Regions from separate parts of the Homo sapiens genome. Here region 2 is linked to region 1. Evidence: promoter capture Hi-C in human tissues and cell types (Jung and others, 2019). All regions are on one chromosome and are shown on one strand. Each heading gives the region's core, a stretch centred on a gene start or on the middle of the fragment in contact. The rest is flanking DNA. Distances are from core to core; before and after follow the strand shown. Region 1 holds the start of LSMEM1 (leucine rich single-pass membrane protein 1). Region 2 overlaps DOCK4 (dedicator of cytokinesis 4).

What was found. The method cuts DNA at HindIII sites, captures the fragments that hold promoters and counts their contacts. A contact is called where the count stands out against the background at its distance.
Region 2: a fragment that was not itself captured here is called in contact with the fragment with the promoter of LSMEM1 in region 1 in 1 of the 25 tissues and cell types used here (heart left ventricle).

What each region holds. Positions count from the first base shown.
Region 1 is chr7:112,478,484-112,485,372 of GRCh38, reverse strand. It overlaps LSMEM1 (leucine rich single-pass membrane protein 1), which reads right to left and starts at 4,382. Exons shown (of 4, transcript NM_182597.3): 1 at 4,027-4,382; 2 at 430-561. The coding sequence starts at 556. The HindIII fragment of the contact is 9,789 bases long and covers 992-6,889 here.
Region 2 is chr7:111,934,268-111,941,156 of GRCh38, reverse strand. DOCK4 (dedicator of cytokinesis 4) reads left to right here. Exons shown (of 53, transcript NM_001363540.2): 11 at 915-1,047; 12 at 5,529-5,617. Among named protein-coding and RNA genes, the nearest start is that of DOCK4-AS1, 130 kb to the right of the region's middle. The HindIII fragment of the contact is 3,128 bases long and covers 1,168-4,295 here.

The DNA.
Region 1 (6,889 bases), core at 3,133-5,632:
ATTTGTAACTTGTAAGTAGAAAATGCTCTGGATTGAGCATTCTCTCAGCAATCTGCTATAAAACAACACTCCTGTGGGAAGTGGTCCCCATCGGTAACCTAGCCATGGTCACTAGGAGAGGGATGAGCCAGCCTCCAGGAGTCCAGCTCTGCAGGCTCCACCCCTTTCCAGGGACAGAAACGCCACAGGATCTCAGAATATTTGAAGTCAAGAGTTCAAATCTCGTGTAGGATCCAAGAAAGCCCATAATCCTGTCAAGTATTCAGAAAACAAAAGCAAAATTGCCCAACAACAAATAACATTTCCAGTGCCAACCTCTTCCTAATGCCCCCTCCCCCTCCACCACACCCACACATCCAGTCAGCAGTGGCTATTTTTAGGTAGCCTAGAAGCTAGGAAGGGCTGCTGTGCCTTCCCCAGCACACATACGGAACAGATGCTGCGATCCGGCTGGACAGAGGTTTAGTTTGTTTAAGTCATTTATGGAATCCACCACATAAAGCTTTCCATCTTCCTGAATGCCACAAGAACCAGTGTCCTGGGAAGAATGAGTCATTGTCCCTGGAAGAAAACACTGATGTTAAAAACAAGAGGTTGGGCTTGTGAACTCAACTTCACAAGAACCACAGCCACCAGGAAGCCAGACAGGCCTATGAAGAACCACCCACAAATAGTATTTTCAACTAAGGCTCTAGAGAACTTGGCTTATCCAGAAAAAAATATTTCCTTCTGTGGACCACTTTGTAATCGTTCTTTTTGCTTTGCTTGCCAGGAAGCTCACAGTCAAATGTGTGGCCCAATTTTAAGAATTGTACATCCATGTATACCCTGCTTATCTGCAAACACTCTTTTCTCCTCCTCAGATGTCTCAGTTCTGCCTATATTTTCCCTGGATCTGTTTTTATTTTGTAACTAATTTTAAAATTTTTCTTTTATTACATTGTTCACATTCTGGTGAGATGCCTCAAATCCTTTGTGCAAGAAGACTAGGTAGACAAAATTAAGCTAGTCAGCAGTGGCCACAAAACATTCTGAAAAAAGAGAATATTACCATGAACCATTCTAATTGCAGGAGGCTTTAATAGAAAATTGCAATTTTTATAGCCTCCCTCCATATGGCATGTAAGTCCTTCTCTTCACACAATTCCTTTAGCCATAAGATGCTGACTGTGAGTCCCCAAGACAACAATCTTAGCAAACTTAGCTGCTATAGAGAGGAATGCTGCTAGACTTCAGGACCTCTGAGATCTCTTCCACCTGGGTTTCCCTTAGACTGAGGTCACTTATGTAATAGCTTGAGGTTTATTAAATATTGAAAGTAATATTCTCTAACGACAGCACAACTGCAAGCAACACTGAAAATCCTGAAGAGTTTAAAAGGTTTATGTGGAGATGTATCTCTAGCACAACAGAGAACTTGTGGCCATTTAATTATGTGAAAAGAAGCCTCTAGAAAGACAAATTTCAATTACTATAAAAGCTTTTCCTTTCATGGTTATCAAGTCTAATCGTGATAGAGGATGTTTGGATCTAGAAAGGGTGTTAGATGTGCTTTAGTTCCCATCCTTTCCGCAAATGAGGAAATGGAAGCTCGGCGAGGTAAATGCCCAGGATCACACATTTGCCTGGCAGCAGAGCTGGAATCGGGCCTTTTGTTCAGCATTCAATGAGTCTTGCTTTGTGCTACTTTTCTTTTCTATATCCCTTCCTAATCCTGCCTCAAGACTCAGCTCAAACATCACTTCCCCTAGGAAGAGAGAACCAACCTGTCTTTCCTTTTGCCTTTGCTGGATTCTTTACATTCTTCTATCAGAACATCTGTAGTATTTTATTGCATCTATTTGCTTACATCTTTGATTTCCCGATAGACTGAAAACTCCTTAGAGTAGGGACGAATCCTATTCTTCAAATGCCCAGTGCCAGGTTTAGAAGTTGGTGACTTATGTTAAGATGGAACACCTGAAATGTTTATTTAGGATTTAAATCTCACCATTTTCAAAAGAATTGGAGGCAGTTAATAATAAGTACATGAACAGAAATAAGATTGAGGATAAAAATCCTCATGTGATGTCTATCTGGACTCTAGTAAAGTCAATGCGATAAATATGGTGCCTGTGTGTATTTGACAACACACTGTTTACTTTCTGTTGTTGCAAAAATTTCCTTTAAAACTCATCTACAGAATGAAGAGCAATATAGAGTTGGGAGAAACCAAATTCATAAAAAAAAAAAAAAAGTATACACCTAAAGAAGATGTGGGGAAAAAAAGTATCAGACACTTACTGAGCAATTTAAACTTAGTCTAAAATATTAAAAAAACAATTTCCCAGTAATACCTAAAACTACTGGTACTTGTGAAAAATGTGCTACCAGAACCCTAGCTAAGAAAGTGAGCTCAAAAAGTCATGGACTAAAAATTTTTTTTAGGGTTAAAACTAAAAAAGTGTGTTTCACTTATCTTGAAATTTTAATTAACAAGAACAAACAATTCCCTGAGTTTTCAGATAAGATACTACCATAGCACTTTATTGACATTACTGAATTCCAAATATACTTCATAGAGCATTCCTAAGGAAATGACTTGATATGACAATTAAAAAAAATTAAAAAGCAGCAGCAAATAGAGTAAAAGGGCCTTAGAGGTCAGTCAAATCTTATCCTTTTGCAGTTAAAACCAAGGCCCCAAAATATTCACTCATGCATAGTCACAGATTTTAAAACAATTCTTTTAGATGTGTTTCATATTTTATCATCCATTTATACTAATATTTGACCAAACAGTAATATGTGACCAGGAAAAAAAGTTTTATGTGTCACATCACAGGACCACTGTTCTGCACACAGCTTCTATTTTAGGTGTGGTAACTGAAGCATGGTTCATTTTTGGATCTCTGACTTAATAGCCTTGAGCCTTAGCTTCCCCTTCAGGAATGTATCTGCTGTTGCTTCAATTTCATACTGAGGCTTAATCAATGTTTACAAAATAGAGACCTAGCTAGAAAATCATGGCCACAAAAACTGACTTTAAGAGTACAGCTAATAAAATCTCCATATTACTGGTCTTGCTATCTACTCAAAAGGTGACTCCAAAAAAAACTAAGACAACAACCTAGTGAGCCATGACGTGCTTTGAAAGAAAATGTCTTCTTTAGAGTGAAGTCACAATGTAAATATATGCTATTCCAATATTTTTTTAATGAGCTGCAACACGCAAATGGAAAAATAAAGAACTAGCAGAGAAAACTGAGTTGGGTGCTGTTCCAGGGCTCCAAGAGCCTGCAAATGACTTGCAAATGACTCATGAGGCTGCTAGTAAAGGGATACAAGATCACATGGCCTTAAAACCAGGCCCCACGGCTGTTTGACACCCAGTAGTTGCTATCTTTGGCATCTCCAAATGAGGGCATCTAGGAACAACCAGCAAGGCTGGAGAAGCCAGTGTTACTAGCAATTCTTCATCACACTAACTTGACCCTCCTTTCAACTCCAGTGTGCAAATTTGCTTATTCACCAAGATTGGCTAAAGCAGCATCCCTTTAACAGAACCCTTTCTTATACCTTGACTGGAAACATGTAAGTAATTTCATTTTCCTCTGGTTTAGATCACTGCTAACAGTTGATTTTTTGTCATTTAAGAATTCTTTGACTATTTACAAATAAATATTCCAACAAATAAAGATAATTGTCTATGAAAAATTGCCTGGTGCTTTATTTTTTAACCAGGCAGGTGCTTGGTATCAAACCACAGAAATAACTCACACCAGTATTGCTTGCCACAAAATCAGAATTGTTATAATAGGGCATAATTCAAAGCTAATAAGCAGTGTTATTGAATGAGTCATGGTAATTTGTTCTTTAATTTCATTTCCCAGTCAATGCCTCTTCACATTCAGGAAGTAATTTTTAAAATCAAGTCTAAATCATTTCTATCAAAAATGAAAAACACAGAGCACATGCAACAAAAACTTCCCAGACTCGAGAATCATAATTCAGTCTCAGTAGAGTAATAGCATGCAAATTACTTACAAAAATGTGAGCTTTGACTGCTAGGTTACCAGAAAAACAAAACAAAACAAAACAAACAAACAAAAACTAATTGTTCAGAAGCAACTACAACAAAACTTTTCTACAAATTCTGTAGTTCTCTCTTTGCCTTTCTTCAGCATACGGGTGCTCCTATGAGACCCATAAGCCCCAGGATGAAACTGTTGGTCTATATTGTGTCAATTTAGCCAAGCAGTGTAAGATTCCAAATCCTGACTTTTTTCATAATGTCTAAGGTTTTTAGTAAATATATTACTAAAACTATGCTTTAAAAAGAAAACAACAAAAAAACACCATGCCCTGATTTAGTTGGTAACTGATGAGGTTTTTATTGGACTGAAGTTACCGTCCTTATCTGGCTGAAGCAACTGTTAGCTGACACCACCTTTCCAGCACTCCTGCCATGGTATGCTTCCATATATAAATATCCTGTAGCAGGCGGAAGCTGCCACTATGATGACTGACTTGCAAACACTCCAGACAAACCAGAGAACTGCAATAAACACGGACAGAATATGATTATGACATCATAACAAGGATGATGGCAGGTCAGACGCCTAGTGCTTCCAGTAGCTACAAAAAGCGATTGTGAGTGGGCGATTTCATGGATACAGACCCACCACAGGTGAAGGAAGCACTCCATCTCATCGGCCGCCTTTCCTTTACAAAGGCTTTGTTCTGTGAGTGTCTGCACATCCTCCTTTCTCAGGAATAACAGCCTTCCATATATGTGGTTCCCTCACATACATGCCAAGGAGCTTCTGCCCTCTGCTGTACATAAAAGATGCTACAGTGATGAGGAGACCAACTATCTCAGCAGGATACTAACAGTGAGGTTGTGAACAACTGTGCAATCCTTTATCATCCTCACTTCCATTGCCATAGCTTGATGGACATTATTCATCTTTGAAACATTTTTCATGTCAGTGAGAAAATAGGTGTTCCACAAAATTTTCTTTGAGACAGAGTCTTGCTGTGTTGCCCAGGCTGGAGCGCAGTGGCATGATCCCAGCCTACTGAGACCTTCCTGCTTCCAGATTCTCCTGCCTCAGCCTCCCAAGTAGCTGGGATTACAGGTATGTGCCACCATAGCTGGCTAATTTCTTTATTTTTAGTAGAGATGGGGTTTCACCATGTTGGTCAGGCTAGTCTTGAACTCCTGACCTCAAGTGATCCACCCACCTCGGCCTCCCAAAGTGCTGGGATTACAAACTTGAGCCACCATGCCCGGCCCAAAATTTTCTTTACACCTATATCCCATACGGACCTCACTCTGCTTTGGGGGAAGAGGAATGTCATTTTTTTTTTCCCTTCACACTACCTAGTCTAAGAGGGAATGTCATTTTTTCAAGCCTCATCTGTACCCAAAGACTAATTCTTGGAGGAAGACAATATAACTAGTAACTTTTCTCAGAAACATACGTTAAAAAGCTATGTCAAATTTCTCTGAATAATGAAAATGTTCATGTTAGCTATTATGCTGTTTTTAAGAAATCTCCCAACTACCTGATCTGCCTTGAGCCATGTATCCTTTGAAGATATAATAGAAGTAACTGCCTCATTTTGGGGCGTTTACTACTTTTCCTCTCCTGTAACTTCTAACTTTGTGGAATATTAACTTCCCCTGAAGGAGGAAGGAAATGGAGACTAAGGAATTTAATTGTTGAGGGATACACTGATTATAAGTGGCAGAGATGAGATGTAAACCCATACCTCGCATTCAAGTCTGAATTGAACTATACACCAGTGAGGGGGATAAGACTGCCTTTAGACCAGTTAGACTTCTGGAAAGCCACTTAAGAACAAAGCAAGACAACCTACTTCATTTTAACTATAACATACCTGCAAGACCACCTTTAAGAAGAGTTTTGGGGCCGAGTGCGGTGGCTCATGCCTGTATTCCCAGCACTTTGGGAGGCCGAGACAGGCAGATTAACTGAGGTCGGAAGTTCGAGACCAGCCTGACCAACAAGGAGAAACCCCATCTCTACTAAAAATACAAAATTAGCCGGGTGTGGTGGCACATGCATGTAATCCCAGCAACTCAGGAGGCTGAGGCAGATTATACCATTGGACTCCAGCCTGGGCAACAAAAACGAAACTTCATCTCAAAAGAAAAAAAAAGAGTTTTGGGTCACAAAAAGAGATATTCTCACATGAAGTGTCTAATCTAGGGACATTCTCAAGTATTTGCTTTTTCTTTCATATATTACATCTCAGGGTATCTAAATTCACTCCCAGGAAATTTAGTACCCATCAAAGAGGAGTCACAGACAATGAATACTTCAAAATGCTTGAGCCTCAAAATAATGAAAGCGGGCAAAATTAATCAAGAATCAAGCAATGAACAACTAGTCTATAACACAACATTTTTCTACTTTCAAGAAAACACAAGCATTCTTACACATTGAACACCCAGCCACCCTTGTCTAGCAGTTACCACAAGTTTCATGAATAAAGTCACCTGCATATAAATTCAACATGCAGATTAACACTCTATACCTTCTTCCTCCCAAAAGCCCAGTAAAAAAGCAGGAGTACAAATTACAAAACCAGAAAAATTAAAATAGGAAGAAACAATACTGAAGAGCTCAATAAATGTATTGAACATGGTAAGAAGAGTGGTATCTGCCTTAGCAGGGCTATCACAGATGAGTGACAGTAGGACTGATCCTGCAGAATTCAGGCAGGCCTAGGATTTAGAGGCAAGAGTGTGGCATGGAGCTACACAGAGGCAAGTAATTTAATGCTAGCCAAAAACAAAATGCAATACAAATTGGAAAATTGTCTTAGAGAAATATCCCAGACAGAAAAAAAAAAAATAAATAAGGCCCAAGATTCAATT
Region 2 (6,889 bases), core at 1,482-3,981, 540 kb after region 1:
GGGCTGTGTTTCCCTGAAAGTGACATCTTGCAGAGGTAGTTTTCCTTTACTACTGATGAATGAAAGCCAAATTGGATATTGTCATCCCATTTTTTCCTGCTTAACATTGGATTTTGGAATTGCTGGAGATATCTTGATGTGCTATAGGAGAATTTTGCTCAGATAGAAACAATTTATGGTTGTGTTGAAAAGCACCTAGAGACAAATTTGCAGATTTTTAAAATCATTTTTTCCCACATTAACTTGTTATATTTCAACTTCAGTGTACTTTTTGCTTTTTGTCTTCAAAATAATCCACTGATAATTAAATACCAACAATACATTAAAACAATGTATTAATAACATATTTTTAAACATGTAACAATTTAAACAAGTTAAAACTTTACAACAGTTAAAACCATTTTGGTGACAACTGAGTTCTGAACAGCCTGAGAGCTGAGGCAGGAGCATGCACATTTGATCACCTGTGCTTACTTGCTGTACTTCAGACAACCTCAAACTACTCTAGTCACAGGTGAAATTTTTGAAATAGTTTTTTTGAATATGGAATTTGTTTAAAAATAGAAAATGGAAGAGTCACCATTACTGCCTTTAGTGACGTGAACTTCCTGGGATGCCTTCATGAATCTCAGGGGCCAGGGGATGGTTCCCAAACATGGGATCTGTTCCAGTCTTTGTATTTTACAGATGGCAACTGACGCCCAGAATTTAAGCTGCTTACCCAAGGTCACACAGCTAGGTGACTGGAGAGGAGAATCCAGAACTGAAGCAATATCTTCTGTTACGCCCAACCTGGGTGCTCTTTATTGCCCAATTACATTTCAATGGCCTATCTTATAGCTGTATGTTTCGCTACCTAAGATGCATCTAATCAAATGGCTCCATGGGTTAATGATTGCTCTTTAATTGAACAGGTCGAATGGGAGCAGGAGAAAAAAAGAATGCCTGTAGTGTCCAGTACCGACGACCCTTTGGCTGTGCAGTTCTTAGCATCGCTGACCTGCTAACAGGAGAGACAAAGGATGACCTCATTCTGAAAGTATACATGTAAGAAACATGCACGTGGTGATGGCTGGGGTAGGCACAGGGGTACATGTGGGTCCTACTTGGGCGAATGCTACTTTAGGTGGGTAGAGAAGAACAATGGGTGGTTTATGAGCCATTCCTCAAAAACCCAGTAATCTGTAGACTTGTTGCAAGTGAGCCTACAAGCCACAATTTGCCAGTCAGAGGAATTACTGAATTAAGAACCAATGAGTACAGACAGTTTACCAGTTAGGTAGACCGTCTACTATGTGGGATACCACCTTTGAATTTATAAACCTAGCACGTCTTTACCTTCAGACAGTCAATGTGTTCTTGGAAAGTGAAAGTACTTTTTGAAGTAAATTTATTAGAATTGGGGAAGGGAAGCCCAGATGACTTCCATCCTACTCTAGGTGTTAGTTTGCTGGGCCTGCCCTAACCAAGTACCACAAACTGCATGGCTTAACCCATTTATGCCTGAGGTTGCAATTTTTTGAAATTTTTGCAATCCTATCTCGGCGATGACCTTGAGCAGTAGGATATAAATAACTCCACATGCTTAGCATTCCAATAATGGAACACTAGGCATAAGTAAATTTTTTTTTTTTTTTTTTTTGAGAAGGAGTCTCGCTCTGTTGCCCAGGCTGGAGTGCAGTGGTGTGATCTCAGCTCACTGCAAGCTCCGCCTCCCGGGTTCACGCCATTCTCCTGCCCCAGCCTCCTGAGTAGCTGGGACTACAGGCGCCCGCCACCACACCCAGCTAATTTTTTGTATTTTTAGTAGAGACGGGGTTTCACCGTGTTAGCCAGGCTGGTCTCAATCTCCTGACCTTGTGATCCACCTGCCTCAGCCTCCCAAAGTGCTGGGATTACAGGCGTGAGCCACCACCCCCAGCCCATAAATAGATTTTAAACAATAGAAATGTGTTGTCTCACATTTCCCAGATGAAGATATTAGTATAGTTGGCTCCTTCTGAGGGCTGTGAGGGCAATCTGCTCCGTGCCTCTCTCCTGGCCTCCGGTGCTTTGCTGGCAGTCACTGGGGGATCCATGGCTTGTAGACGCGTCACTCTGATCTCTGCCTTCATCTTCACATGGTGTTCATGGCTTTCTCTGGGTCCAATCCCCCACCCCCCCAACTTTTTTTTTTTTTTTTTGAGACAGAGTCTCGCTCTGTCACCCAGGCTGGAGTGTAGTGGAGCAATCTCGGCTCACTGCAACCTCCGCCTCCCAGGTTCAAGAGATTTTCTGCCTCAGCCTCCTGAGTAGCTGGGATTACAGGCGCATGCCACCATGCCTGGCTACAAATTTCTCCTTTTTATAAAGATACAGTCATATTAGAGTGTGGTTCACCCTAATAACCTTCTTATATGATTATCTCTGTAAAGACGCTCTTTCAAATAAGGTCTTATTCTGAGGTACTGGGGGTTAGGACTTCAACGTTACCTTTGTTGGGGGATACAGTTTAACCCATGGTTCTCTACTAAGACAGTTACTTGATATATTCCAAATCCTAAGTTAAATGATTTTTTTAAATGCACATGGGTTTGGCCCACACCACCGTGCCACCTCCCCACAGGCTTGGACGTTGAGGCCTAATATACAGCAACATCTTCAGAGCAGACTTATTAGGGTTTCCACACTCCTGGTTTGAGGACCACACCATTGGCTACCTCCATGAGTGAACTGGCTTTCGTATTCCATTCTGGAGGTTGTGTTAATATACCTAATATGTGCCAGTAGATTTTTCATAGGTGATGGTAACACAAGTGGCCCACTGCCTATGGGACATATACTTAAAATTGCCTTTTTGACCTCTGCTGCAGGGTTTCATGGATTTTTCTACTCTCCATCCAATGGGACCTATGTAACACATTCAATAATTCATTGACAAAGATTTATCTATAGTCTGTGGTTTAGGACCGGTAACTCTCTTCATCCCTCTTAAAAAGGAAAACACCTGTGATGTTGATGTTAAACTTGAAAACTTTTGGTGAAATTAGTGGGTGGTAAAAGTTGCTACTCTTTTTATCACATAGCAACCCTCAATTTCAGTGGTTAAGCTTAAATCCATGATACCCTTCTTTCCATACTTAACTGGTGGTCATAAAACGTAGTTTATTTGAAATGCTAATGACTGATAATAACCACCCTTTACTGTGTGCTTACTATGTGTGAGGAACTGTGTTAAGCACTTTGCATGTGTCGTATCCTTTTGTCCTCACAACAAACCCATGAAGCAGACAGACGCTCCTACTCAGTTTTACTCATAGGGGAACGAGAGTTAAATAACTTGCCCCATGTTGCCTAGCTAATAAGAAAAGGAAGCAGATTTGAGGTCAGGACTGTCTTGCTCCAGCATCTGAGCTCTCCAGTTAATAATTTGTATTTTTCCAGGTGTTATTTCACACCATAGTCTAGTAAGGTGATGATGCTGCTGTTATGTGGCTTTTTAAGCAAACTGAAATTCCTCACAAACACACTCTCATCATTTCTTAAAGTAGTCTTTCCAGGTGTGAGTAGCAAGTATTGTATTTATCCTGTCAGTGGGAAAACAGAGGGACAGACAGTCCCATCATCACCCTTTATGAGGCAGCCAGCGGAATAAGACCTATGCATTCCAGCCCTGCCAATGGGAGACAGTCACACTCATGAAGACAAATTGTTCTGCTCTTTGTGTTTTTTTTTATTGTCTGCTTTTCCATAAGCATCAAATAAGGTTTTGGGTAATTCTTAATAGAAGATAAATTCCTGAAAAATGCCCATTCAGCAAATAGTGATGCTGTTTCAAGAGTAATACTAACCAGTCAAAACAGTCACTGTAGATTAGGAAGGAACTGTGAATTTAGTCAAACATGGGAAAGTGCCTGTTAGAAAAAATTGGGGAGAAATTTCTATTTGATAAGGTGACTGAACCCCCAGCCCTTCTGGGACTCAAAGAACAGTAGCAAATGCCTGCCTGAGCCTGGAAGATACTTTAGTCACATACTTTAGGAGCTTTTGTTTGTTTGTTTGTTTGTTTTGAGTTTTGAGTTTTGTAGGTTAAAAGCATGAATTCTGGAATCACTTAACTATCTAATAGGAAGCAAGCCATCTTTCTTTCTTCCCCACTGGGCTGAAATAAGAAAACTGGAGGCAGAATGTGCTAAATGGCAGTTTGGTGTCTTACAACTAGACAGGTGGGATGGTTTCATTCCATCTTAATTTTCCAGCCCTCTTAAGATTCGGCGCTCATTTAGATATCCCACTGTTAATTGGCTCAAAAATCACCTCCATCATGTTCATCCTGCAAAATCCTGTGGCAATAAAATAAATAAAAATGTGAGCAAACAATTATGAATTATCTGCCTCAGACTTGATCACTAGGAAACAGAACCTGCGCTGTGGGAGATTTTGATTGATAGTGTACAGAATCTTGATGTTCAGGCCTCTTGGGAGGATGCATTCATGGCTAATAAAGTAGTGAATTTACACATATGTTCAGATGAAGGAACTTTTCCCCAGCCAATCTGGGAGAGTAGTGGCAGTAAGGATGGATAACAGAACCACATGCTTACAAATCATTATGAGTTACCAGGCAGAGGGACATCCATCCATCCGTCCATCCATCCATCCATCCATCCATCCATCCATCCATCCATCCATTCATACCACTGACAGTTTTTAAGCATCCACAGCATTCAAAGTACTAAAGGAAACTCAAATATCAGCCAGTCCTAGATCCAGTCCTCAAGAACCTTAACAGTCTCCCAGGTGAACTACACCACGTAAACAAAGATAACATGACCTAATGAGTGATAAAAGCTAAGAGAAAGAGGTACAGATTGCTGTGAAAAGACGGAGAGATGCCCCATGTGGAAGATCTGAAAGAGTAATTTTATTATTCTTTGGTAAATCCTGCCAGTCTTTTGCCAGTACAAGCTGTGTTAATGTCAATTTCATTTTGCTTAATTTGCTGCATTTTGATTCTGGACAAACCTGGTCATGTTACAGTAGGCAGAGACTTGCTAATGAGAACTAATTTACTGAGCATTTATTATATGCCAGGAATTACCCTAAGCCCATGTTAGTTTAAAGTTCTAGTATATTATCTGTGTTTCATAGGTGGGGAAATTAAGACAAGAGTAAATAAACTCACCTAAAGAACATAGCTTGGTTAATAGTGAGAATTTGAATCTGGGGAGTTGAACTCAGTTGGGGCTGCCTTCCCCTGTATACATTGTTCTCTGAGATTTCTGTCTGTTTTGGGGCCACTTGTAATCTGCGAAGTGTTATCCCAGCTGCTTCTGTCATGAGGTAGGTGGTCAGGCATTACCAGATACGGACATTCTTGCTCATCCTGGGACAACCATGCTAAAACTGACAGTCAGTTGCAGCAGGTTGATGGGGACCTCAAGGAGGTACATTATAGTGGTTATAACGAAAAGGGCAGATGTACTATGAGGATCACTGCTTGACTGCATGCATCATTAAAGCTTAACAGAGTGTTAATGTTTTCATAGGTGTAACACAGAGAGTGAGTGGTACCAAATCCATGAGAACATCATCAAAAAGCTGAATGCACGTTATAACTTGACTGGCTCCAATGCAGGTGAGTGTATGGGCTGGCTGACTTTCCCTACACTTTTCGTTCCAAGCCCTTTTTTTTGTTTGTCTGTTTGGGAAGGAAATTATCAGCCCTTTGTTTTTCTGTCTATTCACTCCCTAACTTTAAAAATGCTCAATGAACATTCTGGTATGTCTTCCTATGCTATGATAGGGTTGTACTTATAACTCCCTATAAAAAATGTATTCTATTCTTGTTGAAACGAAAAAGATAATCTGAATTTGTTCTTTGGTACCAAGTCTTCATACTCCTAAGTTGTTATTGAAAACTAAAAATCAGCCAGGCACGGTGGCTCACGCCTGTAATCCCAGCACTTTGGGAGGCCGAGATTAGTGGATCACCTGAAGTCAGGAGTTCGAGACCAACCTGGCCAACACAGTGAAACCCCGTCTCTACTAAAAATACAAAATATTAGCTGGGCATGGTGGCAGGTGCCTGTAATCCCAGCTACTCGGGAGGTTGAGAAAGGAGAATTGCTTGAACCTGGGAGGCGGATGTTGCAGTGAGCTGAGATTGTGCCATTGCACTCCAGCCTGCGTGACACAGTAAGACTCTGTCTCAAAGAAAAAAAAAAAAGCAAGCTAAAAATCACATGACAAATATGATGCTTGGATTTGTGACTGTTCTGTGGAAATAAGTTTGATAAATAGCAATTTTTAGTGAGGTCCAATAAAAACATGCTTCGCGGCCGGGCGCAGTGGCTCACGCCTGTAATCCCAGCACTTTGGGAGGCCGAGGCGGGCGGATCACGAGGTCAGGAGATCGAGACCATCCTGGCTAACACGGTGAAACCTCATCTCTACTAAAAAAAAAAAAAAAATACAAAAATTAGCCGGGCATGGTGGCAGGCACCTGTAGTCCCAGCTACTCCGGAGGCTGAGGCAGGAGAATGGCGTGAACCTGGAAGGCGGAGCTTGCAATGAGCCAAGGTCGCGCCACTGCACTGCAGCCCGGGTGACAGAGCAAGACACTGTCTAAAAAAAAAAAAAAAAAAAAAAAAACAAAAACAAAACAAAACATGCTTCGCTGCCTATGGCTGGCTTTGAGCAGCAACATTATTGACAAACATACAGGTTCACACATTGAAGTTGGCTAAAAAAGAAAGTGATGCTGATTGCAGTGGCATGTGAAGAAAAATGTGTGTGTGCTTGTTCAGAGAGGAACTGAAATATATACCACTATAAGTCGTATGAGGTACATAGTATTGTACTAGTAACATATAGTATATACTACATTATATAGCATATATAGATTGCA